Linked DNA regions of Homo sapiens: all the other regions are linked to region 1. The links are contacts of gene promoters, found by promoter capture Hi-C in blood cells and fetal thymus (Javierre and others, 2016). All regions are on one chromosome and are shown on one strand. The core of a region is centred on a gene start or on the middle of the fragment in contact, and the rest is flanking DNA. Distances in the headings are between cores, read along the strand shown. Region 1 holds the start of EXOSC5 (exosome component 5). Region 2 holds the start of LINC01480 (long intergenic non-protein coding RNA 1480). Region 3 has its middle 6.6 kb from the start of CEACAM21.

Region 1 (3,469 bases), core at 388-2,887:
ACATGTCTCTGACTGCTCAAGTTGGAAGGCCTAGGGCTTGGTCCTGGGACCTCTTCTCTTTTCCATCTACACTCACTTCGTTCAGGCAATAGCCTGAAATACCATCTATATAGCCAGAGAGTTCCAAATTGCCTATGTCCAGCTTGGGTCTCTCTTCTGATTTCCAGACTTGTACAGATCTGGGCAGAAACCTTAGTTATGCCTGAATCTTTTTCCTCGCACTCAAACCAAACTATACGTAAGTTTTGTCCGTATTACTTTCAAACTACATCCAGAATCTCATCACCTCCACTACTCCTGCTCTGGCTGGAGCCACCATCACCTCCCTGTTTTCCCCCATACTCCCCACAATCAACACAGCAGCCAAATTTTGTTAAAATGTATTGGGGCTGGGCGTGGTGGCTCATACCTGTATGAGCACTTTGGGAGGAGGATTGCTTGAGCCCAGGAGTTCAAGACCAACCTGGGTGACATCGTGAGACGCTGTCTCAATTTTTTTTTTTTTTGAGACAGAGTCTTGCTTTGTCGCTCACGCTGGAGTACAATGGCACGATCTCGGCCCACTGCAACTTCTGCCTCCCAGGTTCAAGTGATTGTCCTGCCTCAGCCTCCCGAGTAGCTGGGATTACAGGCGCCCGCCACCATGCCTGGCTAGTTTTTGTATTTTTAGTAGAGACAGGGTTTCGCCATGTTGGCCAGGCTGGTCTCGAACTCCTGACCTCAGGTGAGCCACAGGTCTTGGCCTCCCAAAGTGTGGGGATTACAGGCGTGAGCCACCGCCCCCGGCCTCCCGTCTCAAACGTTAAAGAGAAATATTCTTGGAGTTAATCTACTTCTGAGAGTTATTTAGCTAGGAAAAGGGGATATTTGCTCTATAGGTAAGACTTGCCCTAATCTTTTTTTTTTTTTTTTTTTTGACTTGCCCTAATCTTAGGGATATTTACTTGTGTGGAGAGATGCAGTGAGGTAGCGGTGGGGATGTATTTCTCAACCCAGCGCAATGACATTATCTTCAATTTGAGGAGTATTTACGTGGGTGAAAGATCCGCCACAGTCCACAGTATGCAAATAGACAGGTTTGCTTCAGTCCGGGATGCAAGGACCTAGAGGGTGTGTGTGTGGGGGGTGGGGGTGGGAGGGTGGAGGAGGAATCGAGTTAAGGGGGATATTTACCCTGGCGAGGTGATTTTCCCTATTCTGAAATATCAATTCTTGGGCGGACAGTCTGCCCCTCCTCTCATTCTCAGAGATAGTTACAAAGATGGAACTATCTTCTCCTTTCTAGTCGTGAGGGAGAGATGTGTGTATCCCTGCGTATTTAGTAGTATTCAATCGGACAAGAAATCATGCATCAACGCAGGAGTGACATTTACCAGCTGGTATCGTGAGGAGGTGGGCACTCGGTTGCACAGTACACGGTAGTCCCTCTCCAAAAGAAAGACCTGGGTGAAGTTCTTACCTTGCAGGAAGGAAGCAGAGCCATCTGGCCGCGACAGCAGGTTCTGTTCGCAGGCAAAGTGCCGGAGGCTGCAGCCAGGACCCCGAGGGCTGGACCCTGTTCCATTTTCAGCACGGATTTTGGCGTCAGTATGCGTCTCCTCCTCCATCGCGCCGAGCCCACGTGCGGCTGCAGTTGTCACTTCCGCCTGGCAGCGCGCGCCGCAAACAGGCTGCGTAACCAGTGCGCACGCGCCGGGCTGGGCCATCCTCCTGGGCGTCCGCACGTGGCTTAGCGTTTACCAACAATCTGGCTCCGCCCAGTCCCACCTCCTAACTCTGGCAACGCCATTGGACATTTGGGAACAGAAGGCAGGCCTTGGCATTGATCCGCTTTACTCTGGGCCCCCGGGCCCTAAATCCCTGAGGCCCTGGTCAGGTTGCCCTCTTCTTTGCCTGTTACAGGAGTAACTACAATGAGGCGATTGGAGAAAATTTTGGGTAGATAGATTTTTTTTTCTCCAAATCTCTGTGCATTCTATCTACCACAGAACGGGAAGAAGATGGTTTTCTTGTCAGATGGTGCTGGAGTTTGCGTCAGGCACATAAAGAGGCAGCCCCGAATCTAGCCTACGTGAGTGCCGGACCGCTGAGTGGTTGTTAGCCAAGATGGCGGTAGCGATCGCTGCAGCGAGGGTCTGGCGGCTAAACCGTGGTTTGAGCCAGGCTGCCCTCCTGCTGCTGCGGCAGCCTGGGGCTCGGGGACTGGCTAGATCTGTGAGTACCTGGGCCCCAGGCGGTTTTCCCAAAGGGGATTAGGGATGTAAAGGCTATCTTCAGAGTGTGGGGTCCCTGAAGGATATGAAGGAAGGGCTGTCACAAAAGGGAAAAAGAGTGGGAGACTCCTTGGAGAAGACACCGAAGGGAAGATCTGCCACTTCCTTAGGAGACGAAAAGAACTTCCACTTCTTTAGGAGAGGAAAAAACCCGTTTGCAACTTCTTTGTGGGCCCTGAGGGAGACGACTTGAAGAGAGAGATGGGGGTTCCTTATTAGCTGCCACTGGTATTCAGGGGAGGCTCCTTGGAGGAACAGGGGAAGACCGCAAGACCTTCTCCCTCAGGGTTTGGAGAATGAAACTGACTTTGTAAGGGAGGGACTTTCTTCTGGGCAAAGATCCCTCTTCAAGAAGAAGAAAGAAGAGAACAGGTCCCTGTCACAGGCTGCATAGGGCCTTGTATTTCTTTGCTCCTTTGCCACAATTCTGATTTTAAAATGAATTGTGTAAAAAATTTGTTTGATTCCTGTGTCTCTTGATCGAATATCAAGACAGAGAATTCGTGTGTTCTGGACACTGTACAGAGGAGACGATTAATATTTGTTGAATTAATGAGGGGAAAAAAGGAGGGAGAGAGGTACAGACAGGGCACTTTGCCCACATTTCTTAGAAACACTTGAGAAGGCTTTGTTTCTTGTCAAAAGGGTCACAATCCCTTCAGGTGGATGCTGCTAAGGGCAAGATTACACTGCAAAAAACCTAGGTGGAAGCCTATCTTTAGACGGGGAGAGGCAATGGGTTGCAGAAGAGCTTTGAACTACAGTTGACAGATAGGAGAGTAGTGGTTACATGGGTGGATGCATGTCCTTGCTCTGCCGCTTTCCACTTGTGTAGCCTTGGCCAACGGACTGCACTTCTCTGGATCTATGGAGCTAATTTTCCTCTCTAAAATATTAACAGTGGCCACCTCATAGGGCTGTGAAAAATCAATATGTAAAATGCTAAGGACTGGACCTGGCACATCCTAAGGGCAATAGGAATGTTGATAGTGAGGGTGGAGGGAAGGGACAGAAACTAACCTTGGAGATGGGGAGAAGAAAGGGGTGACCTTGGGAAGGCCTGGATTGGTGAGGCCCTGGGGAAAAAAATCTGAAAAGATATTGTGAGGTTGAGTCTGATCCTCTGATCCCCAATCCATAAGGAGGGGAAGATGGAATCTGTAGAAAGAAGCTCTGGGTAGGGGAACAAACGGGAG
Region 2 (3,372 bases), core at 41-2,540, 140 kb after region 1:
TGAAGGAGTGCTGGAAGAGTCTCCAGAATACAATAAATAATATTATCAAGACTTTTCCTGGGTCTGGGCTGTGCCTGTTGCTGCCTCTGGGACAAGTTAGCTTAATACAAGAAAGCTTATTTCCCTTTCTTTTTAATTTTATTTTTCTTTAATTTCCCACCTCAGTTTTACTTTGCATTTCCCTGAGAATTTTTAATAAGTAAAATACTTAGAAATATACTTAACCAAGTAGGTTAATGTAAGTTTCCTACAAGGAAAACTACAAAATAGTGCTGAAAGAAATCACAGTTGACACAAACAAATGGGAACACATTATAAGCTTATGAATAGGTAGAATCAATATTGTGAAAGTGACCATACTCTCCAAAGCCATCTACAGAGCAGTAGAATTCTCATCAAAATATCATCATTCTCCTTCCCAGAACTAGAAAAAAGAATCCTAAAATTTATACAAAACCAAAAACGTGACCGCATATCCAAAGCAATACTTTGCAAAAAGAACAAATCTGAAGGCAGGCTTTAAATTATACTACAAGGCTACAATCACCAAAATAGCATGATACTGGTATAAAATATGCACATAGAGCAATAGAACAGAATAGAGAACCCAGAAATAAAGCCAAATGCTTACAGACAACTAATCTTCAACAAAGTACACAAAAACATTAATTGGGGAAAGGATACTTTATTCAATAAATGGTGCAGGAAGTATAAAAATAGGCACATAGAGCAATGGAACAGAATAGAGAACCCAGAAATAAAGCCAAATGCTTACAGACAACTAATCTTCAACAAAGTATGCAAAAACACTAATTGGGGAAAGGACACTTTATTCAATAAATGGTGCAGGAAGTATAAAAATAGGCACATAGAGCAATGGAACAGAATAGAGAACCGAGAAACAAAGCCCGGTACTTTCAGTCACCTGATCTTTAACAAAGCATATAAAAACTTCCATCTAAGACCTGAAAGTCTAAAAATGCTACAAGATAGCATCCAAAAAGCTTTTCTAGACATTGGCTTAGGCCAAGTAGTCATGACTAATGCCCCAAAAGCAAACGCAAAAATATAAAAATAGAATAAGATCAATAGGACCTAATGAAACCGAAAATCTTCTGCAAGGCAGAAGAAATATCAGCAGGGTAAACACACAACCCACAGTATAGGAAACAGTAGTCACAAACTAGGCATCTGACAAAGGACTAATGTCCAGACTCCAAAGGAACTGAAAGAAATCAGCAAGAAGAAAAGGTGCCATTTACCACCTTCCTGACTCATTGGCCAGAACCAATGTTAGTGGAATTAACATATGCCCCACCCCAAGTGACTTCTAAAGGGCTAACTCACCACAAGGGAGTCAGAGCAGATCTTGGACTGAGACCTACAGGACACAGGTACTGCTTTTTCTCTTTTATTTGTTTTAAATTTTATTTATGTTTTTAGATCAAATAGTTCAGATTGCATTGGTTTTTAATCTGCTGTTGTTGGATTAACATATGCTTTAAGCGACTCTTAAATAGGTGGCTCACCAGGAGAAAGGCATAGCAGAACCTGGACTGAGACCTACGGGAGACAGGTATTGCTTTTTCTCTTCTAATCATTTTAAATTTAATTTACCATCTTTCATCAAATAGCTCCGATCATATCATTATTTTTTCTTTTCTGTTTTGTTGGTGGTTTTATTGGTGGAGTTTTATTTTACTATTTTAGAAAAGCAGTCTTTTAAAAAAGACTTTTAAAAAGTTTTATTACTCTTTTTTTTAAAAAAATTATGTTTTCCCTTGATGTGCTTATTTCCTTTATAAAGATCATCACCATTAAATTACTAGGAGATACTGCGGCTGATTTTGTCATGCGTGAGATAAGAAATTTTTTGCCAAAGCAATTAGTGATGAGTGCAATGGAAAAATCCGTGATGATCTTTTAAGATGATTAACTTTCTAATCCAGAAAATGCTGCTGTTTGTACTGAACAAAATAGCTTTATTTTTATATGACCAGGGGTACATAAAATGCTTCAAAACAACACATAATTTGGCAAAAATACTATGTCTTGCCAGCCAGAAGAATAAGTGTGGTTTTATTTCTATGTATATGTCTAGTACCATGCCTGCACTAGAGTTGGGAAATTTTAAAAACATCACCTATTGATACAGAAGAGAAGTGCTGGGAAGGGAAGGGCATGGTCCCTTTGAATGATACAGAAAAGGTGAAGGAAAGTGATGGGTAGAGGAGGCCGGGGTCCCTGGCTAGGGCTCCAAACCTGGGCTTGTGCCCCTGGACCTAGATGAGGACAGGCATTTTTGTTTTCCTGACCAAATGTTGCATTTCCCAAGATCACCCTGGCCCACCATGCCCTATCCTGTGCCTAAAAAAACCCTGGGACCCTAGCAGGCAGACACACAGGAGGTTGGACGTCGAGAGGAGCACATCAGTGCAAGAACACATGGGTGGCTGCCACTTCTCTCCCTTTCCTGAGAGGGAAAAACTCTCGACGCTGAGAGGAATCCACCAACAGGCACCAGCACTCTGGCAGGCCACCGACCAATGGATTGACATAGAGTTTGGCTGGGGCAGCCAGAGGAGAGCCTGGGCCGCTGAATAACCCGACTTCAGGGGAAAACTATTCTCCCTTTTGGCTCCCCCATCTGCTGAGAGCTACTTCCACTCAATAAAACCTTGCACTCATTCTCCAAGACCACGTGTGATTTGATTTTTCTGGTACACCTAGGTAACAACCGCGGGATACAGAAAGCCCTCTGTCTTTGGGTTAAGGAATGGGTCTAATTGAGCTGGTTACCACAAAGCCACCTATAGATGGCAAAACTAAAAGAGCACATGGTACCACATGTCCACTGGGGCTTCAGCAGCTGTAAACATCTACCCCTAGATGCTGCCATGGGGTTGTAGCCCCACAACTTGCCAGTCTGTATGCTTCCCTAGAGGTTTGAGCAGCGGAGTACTAAAGAAGCAAGCCACACCCCCACTCCACCTCCTGTGAGGGGGACAAGGAAACTTTTCCCATTTCAACTGGTGGCTCGTCTGGGATCTCGGAAGGTGAGTGTGAGTGAATGGGAAACTGTTGGGCCTGCCTTTCTTCCAAAACTCTGCCACTTCTCTCCCTTTCCTGCAGGTAAAAGACTCTGTTTTCCTTTCATCTCTTTTCTCTCTCACACATTATTTGAAATGGATCTTATCTCTTCCTTTATAATGTTAAGAGTTTTGCTACAGGCTGAGGCAATGTTACTAAGTAAAATGAGCATTTGGCTCAGCCGCCAAAGGTGCAAATCAGACCAATTTTTCCTAGAGGTGCCATGTATGCCTCCACCTTGACAGCCCCAGGCATGAGCGGCTTCCAGGGCACCTCTCCTTA
Region 3 (3,384 bases), core at 542-3,041, 170 kb after region 1:
GTTTTTTTTGTTTTGTTAATCAATAGTGAGGATTGGGAATGTGGAGAAGAAAGGAGGAAGATGCAGTAAAAAAAAAAAAAAAAATGCTTTGGACTTTCCAGACCCTGCATCATTTTGTTTTGGGATTGGCTTCCTTCTTCCTTTTTAGTGCTTCATGATTCACCCTTCATCCTACAGACATAGGTGTTGATGATGGATCATTGAGGGATGTGCTTGACATTTTGGGAACAAGTGGCCTTTGAGGATGGGACTGTGGATGTGGCCTCTGTATCCCAGTCAGATAAAACTATACAGAAACATAATTTTCTTATATATTTTGGATATTATCTTCTTATCAGATGTATATATTTACAAATATATATGTATATATTTACAAATATATTCTCCTCCCATTTGTAGGTTGTCTCTTTGCTCTGCTGGCCTTTTTTTTCTTTGCTGTATAAAAGCTTTTTAGTTTGATGAAATCCCGTTTGTTTATATTTGGTTTTGTTGCTTATGCTGTTGAGATTTTATCCAAAAACTCTTTGCCTAGACCAATGTCATGGATTTTCCCCCTATATTTTCTTCTAGTAGTTTCATAGTTTCAGTTCTTACATTTAAGTCTTTATTTAATACATTTTGAGTTAATTTTTTGTGCATGGTGAGGGATAGGGTCTAGGTTCATTCTTCTGCATATGAATATCCAATTCCCCAGCACCACTTATTGAAGAGGCTGTCCTTTCCCCATTGTGTGCATGTGGCTCCTTGGCTGAAAATCAGTTAGCTAGAGATGCATGGGTTTATTTCTGGGATTTTTATTCTGTTTCATTGATCTATGTGCTTGTTTTTATGCCAGGACCATGCTGATTTGGTTACTATAGCTTTGCAGTATGCTTTGATTGTCAGGAAGTGTAATGCCACTAGCTTTGTTCTATTTGTTTAAGATTGCTTTGGCAACTCAGGGTGTTTTGTGCAGGTTTTAGGAATTTTTGTGGTTTCTAATTTTAGGATCTTCTACTTCTTCGAAGAATATCATTGGTGTTTTGACAGAAATTGCATTGAATCTGTAGACCACTTTGGGTGGTAAGGACATTTTAGCAATATCAGTTCTTCCAATTCATGAACATGGAATATCTTCTATTTGTGCGTGTGTCTTTTTCAATTTATTTCATCAATGTTTTACAGTTTTCATTATAAAGGTCTTTTACTTCCTTGGTTAAATTTACTTCTTTTGTTTCAGCTATCATAAAAGATAGCTTAAAAATTTTAGCAGTAGATAGCTAAGAATAAATTGTATTCTTTTTCAGATAATTCATTATTGGCTATTACTGGTATTACTGGTGGACTATTGCATAGCATGGTTGATTAGAGTTAACAATAATGTATTCCATATTTCTTTTTTTTTTTTTACTTTTATTTTTTGAGACAGGGTCTCGCTCTGTTACCTACACTGAAGTATACAGTGGCACAATCTCAACTCACTGCCAACTCAGCCTCCCCAGCTCAAGCAATCCTCCCACCTCAGCCTCCTGAGTGACTGGGACTACAGGTGTATGCCACCATGCACAGCTAATTTTTGTCTTTTTGTAGAGACAACAACTCGCTATATTGTCCAGCCAGCATAGTCTTGAACCCCTGGGCTCAAGCAGTCCACCCATAATGGATGAGAAAGTGTTGGGATTACAGCTGAGATGGGATTGCGGGGGGCGGGTTGGGGAAGGTGAGGTTCAGAGAGGGCAGGGCCTGCAGGGAGAGGGGCTGCAGGGAGCTAGATACTGCCCCCCAAGGAGGAGGGAGCACTGTTCCCATCAGAGTGCACATCTCCTTGCAGCAGCTGCACAAATAGAGAGCCCTGGCCAGGCTGATGGAGCCTCCCATGCCTGCTTTGCCCCAGGGTGTGGATTCTGAAATCTGTGCCCCTAACGGGTGGGACTGAGGTCCACAGTGACATCCCAGGGGAATCTATGATTCCAAACTCCAGCCACCCCGCCTACAAAATAGGAAAACGCTATGCTTTTCCTATTAAATCCCAAATTCCATCAGTGCAAGCTCTCACCCTCTAAATCAGAAAGTTCAGTCATTCCTGGCGTCCTCCCACACCCCCAGCCTGACTTGCAGACACACAGGGTGGCTGACACCTGTCCCTGCTCCTCCCCCTGGCCCAGCTGCTGTGCATCCTGGAGGTGATGAATGATCAGGACAAGGGAGCCTAGAGCGGGCCCCACAGCTGTCAGGAAGCCAGGACTCAGCCTCCAGGCGGCAGTCACCCTGGTGCCACAGCGACAGCGCTGATGGCCATTCTGAAGACTGGGGGTGTCAGGAGAGCTGGGCGTCCCACAGAACTGCACAGAATAATGGGGAACGAGGGTGACACAGGACTCAGGATTTCAGATGGGTAGGTAGGCTCAGCTGGGAGCTCAGGGACAGACCTGAGGAGCCTCAGTGGGAAGTGCTGAAGTGGAAAGTTCTGGAATGTTTCAGGAAAAAGGCTGGAGGCTTAGAGGAAAGGCTGTCGCTCCTAATATGGCTGGCAACCCTGGATGGGCTGTGTTCCTCCCACCTGCCCATCCTCTCACTGCTGCCACCTCTAGGGACACAACCTCTCTTCATGTCCACCTTCCCAAACTCACCTGCACTCCTCCATTATCTGACTTTATGTGAAAGCAGTGCTAAGATCCCTCTCCTGCAATGCAAGAAGGAGATGAGAGGCCCGGGTCCCCACAGACAACTCAGCAGTGGGGTCCTGCTGAAGTGGGACCGGGCAGAATCATGCACTCCCAACATCCTGGATCCTGACTGGGGGTAACAGTGAAGTTCAAAGACCATGCCATCAAAATCTCCAGAGTGAGGCTCCTCCCTGGGGTCCCTGAGGTCTGTCCAGGAGCTGCTCCCTGAGCAAATCTAGAGCGTGGAGGGCTGGGGTTGTGGCAGTAAAAGCAGCCACATTTGTCTCAGGGTGGAAAGGGAGACGGTGAGCTCCAGTAAGGGCAAGGGCGCCATCTAGTGGGCGCCTCCTGCTAAGGAGCAAGGAGACCAGGAGAGCGGAGATCAGGGCTGGCCTTGGACTAAGGGGTGAGTTCAGGTGGAGGGGACTGAGGTGTAAGGAGGCGGGTGAAGTGGGGAAGTGGTGGGGAGACATGGGAGGAGCAGGTGAGGGGAAGCTTCAGGGAAGCTGCGGGAGGGCACAGCAGGGCTCTCCACTCCTCAGCATTGACATTTGGGTGGTCAAACTGGTGGGGCTCTGTGAACTGCAGGGTGTTCAGCACCATCCACCCACTCAATGCCAGCAGGACTCCCTCCCCCAGCTCTGACAACCAACAATGTTTCCAGACTTTGCCAAATGTCCCCTAGAGGGCAAAATTTCCCCTGGCAGAGTCACTGATCCACACTAATCTCTAATAACAA

The links. The method cuts DNA at HindIII sites, captures the fragments that hold promoters and counts their contacts. A CHiCAGO score of 5 or more calls a contact.
Region 2: the fragment with the promoter of LINC01480 here is called in contact with the fragment with the promoter of EXOSC5 in region 1 in 16 of 17 cell types (total B cells, naive B cells, naive CD4 T cells and 13 more); the score reaches 17.0 in total B cells.
Region 3: a contact is called between a fragment that was not itself captured here and the fragment with the promoter of EXOSC5 in region 1, in 5 of 17 cell types (naive CD4 T cells, total B cells, endothelial precursors and 2 more). The highest score is 6.9, in naive CD4 T cells.

Annotation. Positions count from the first base shown.
Region 1 is chr19:41,395,722-41,399,190 of GRCh38, forward strand. It overlaps EXOSC5 (exosome component 5), which reads right to left and starts at 1,638. Exons shown (of 6, transcript NM_020158.4): 1 at 1,460-1,638. The coding sequence starts at 1,607. It overlaps BCKDHA (branched chain keto acid dehydrogenase E1 subunit alpha), which reads left to right and starts at 2,097. Exons shown (of 9, transcript NM_000709.4): 1 at 2,097-2,214. The coding sequence starts at 2,107. RefSeq lists a silencer at 1,561-1,849 and enhancers at 1,608-2,280, 1,846-2,125, 2,281-2,952. The HindIII fragment of the contact is 9,689 bases long and covers 1-3,469 here.
Region 2 is chr19:41,534,208-41,537,579 of GRCh38, forward strand. It overlaps LINC01480 (long intergenic non-protein coding RNA 1480), which reads left to right and starts at 1,291. Exons shown (of 3, transcript NR_110724.1): 1 at 1,291-1,394; 2 at 1,507-1,576; 3 at 2,394-2,697. The HindIII fragment of the contact is 2,878 bases long and covers 1,003-3,372 here.
Region 3 is chr19:41,567,829-41,571,212 of GRCh38, forward strand. It overlaps a transcript of CEACAM21 not described here. Among named protein-coding and RNA genes, the nearest start is that of CEACAM21, 6.6 kb to the right of the region's middle. RefSeq lists a silencer at 2,004-2,298. The HindIII fragment of the contact is 2,694 bases long and covers 445-3,138 here.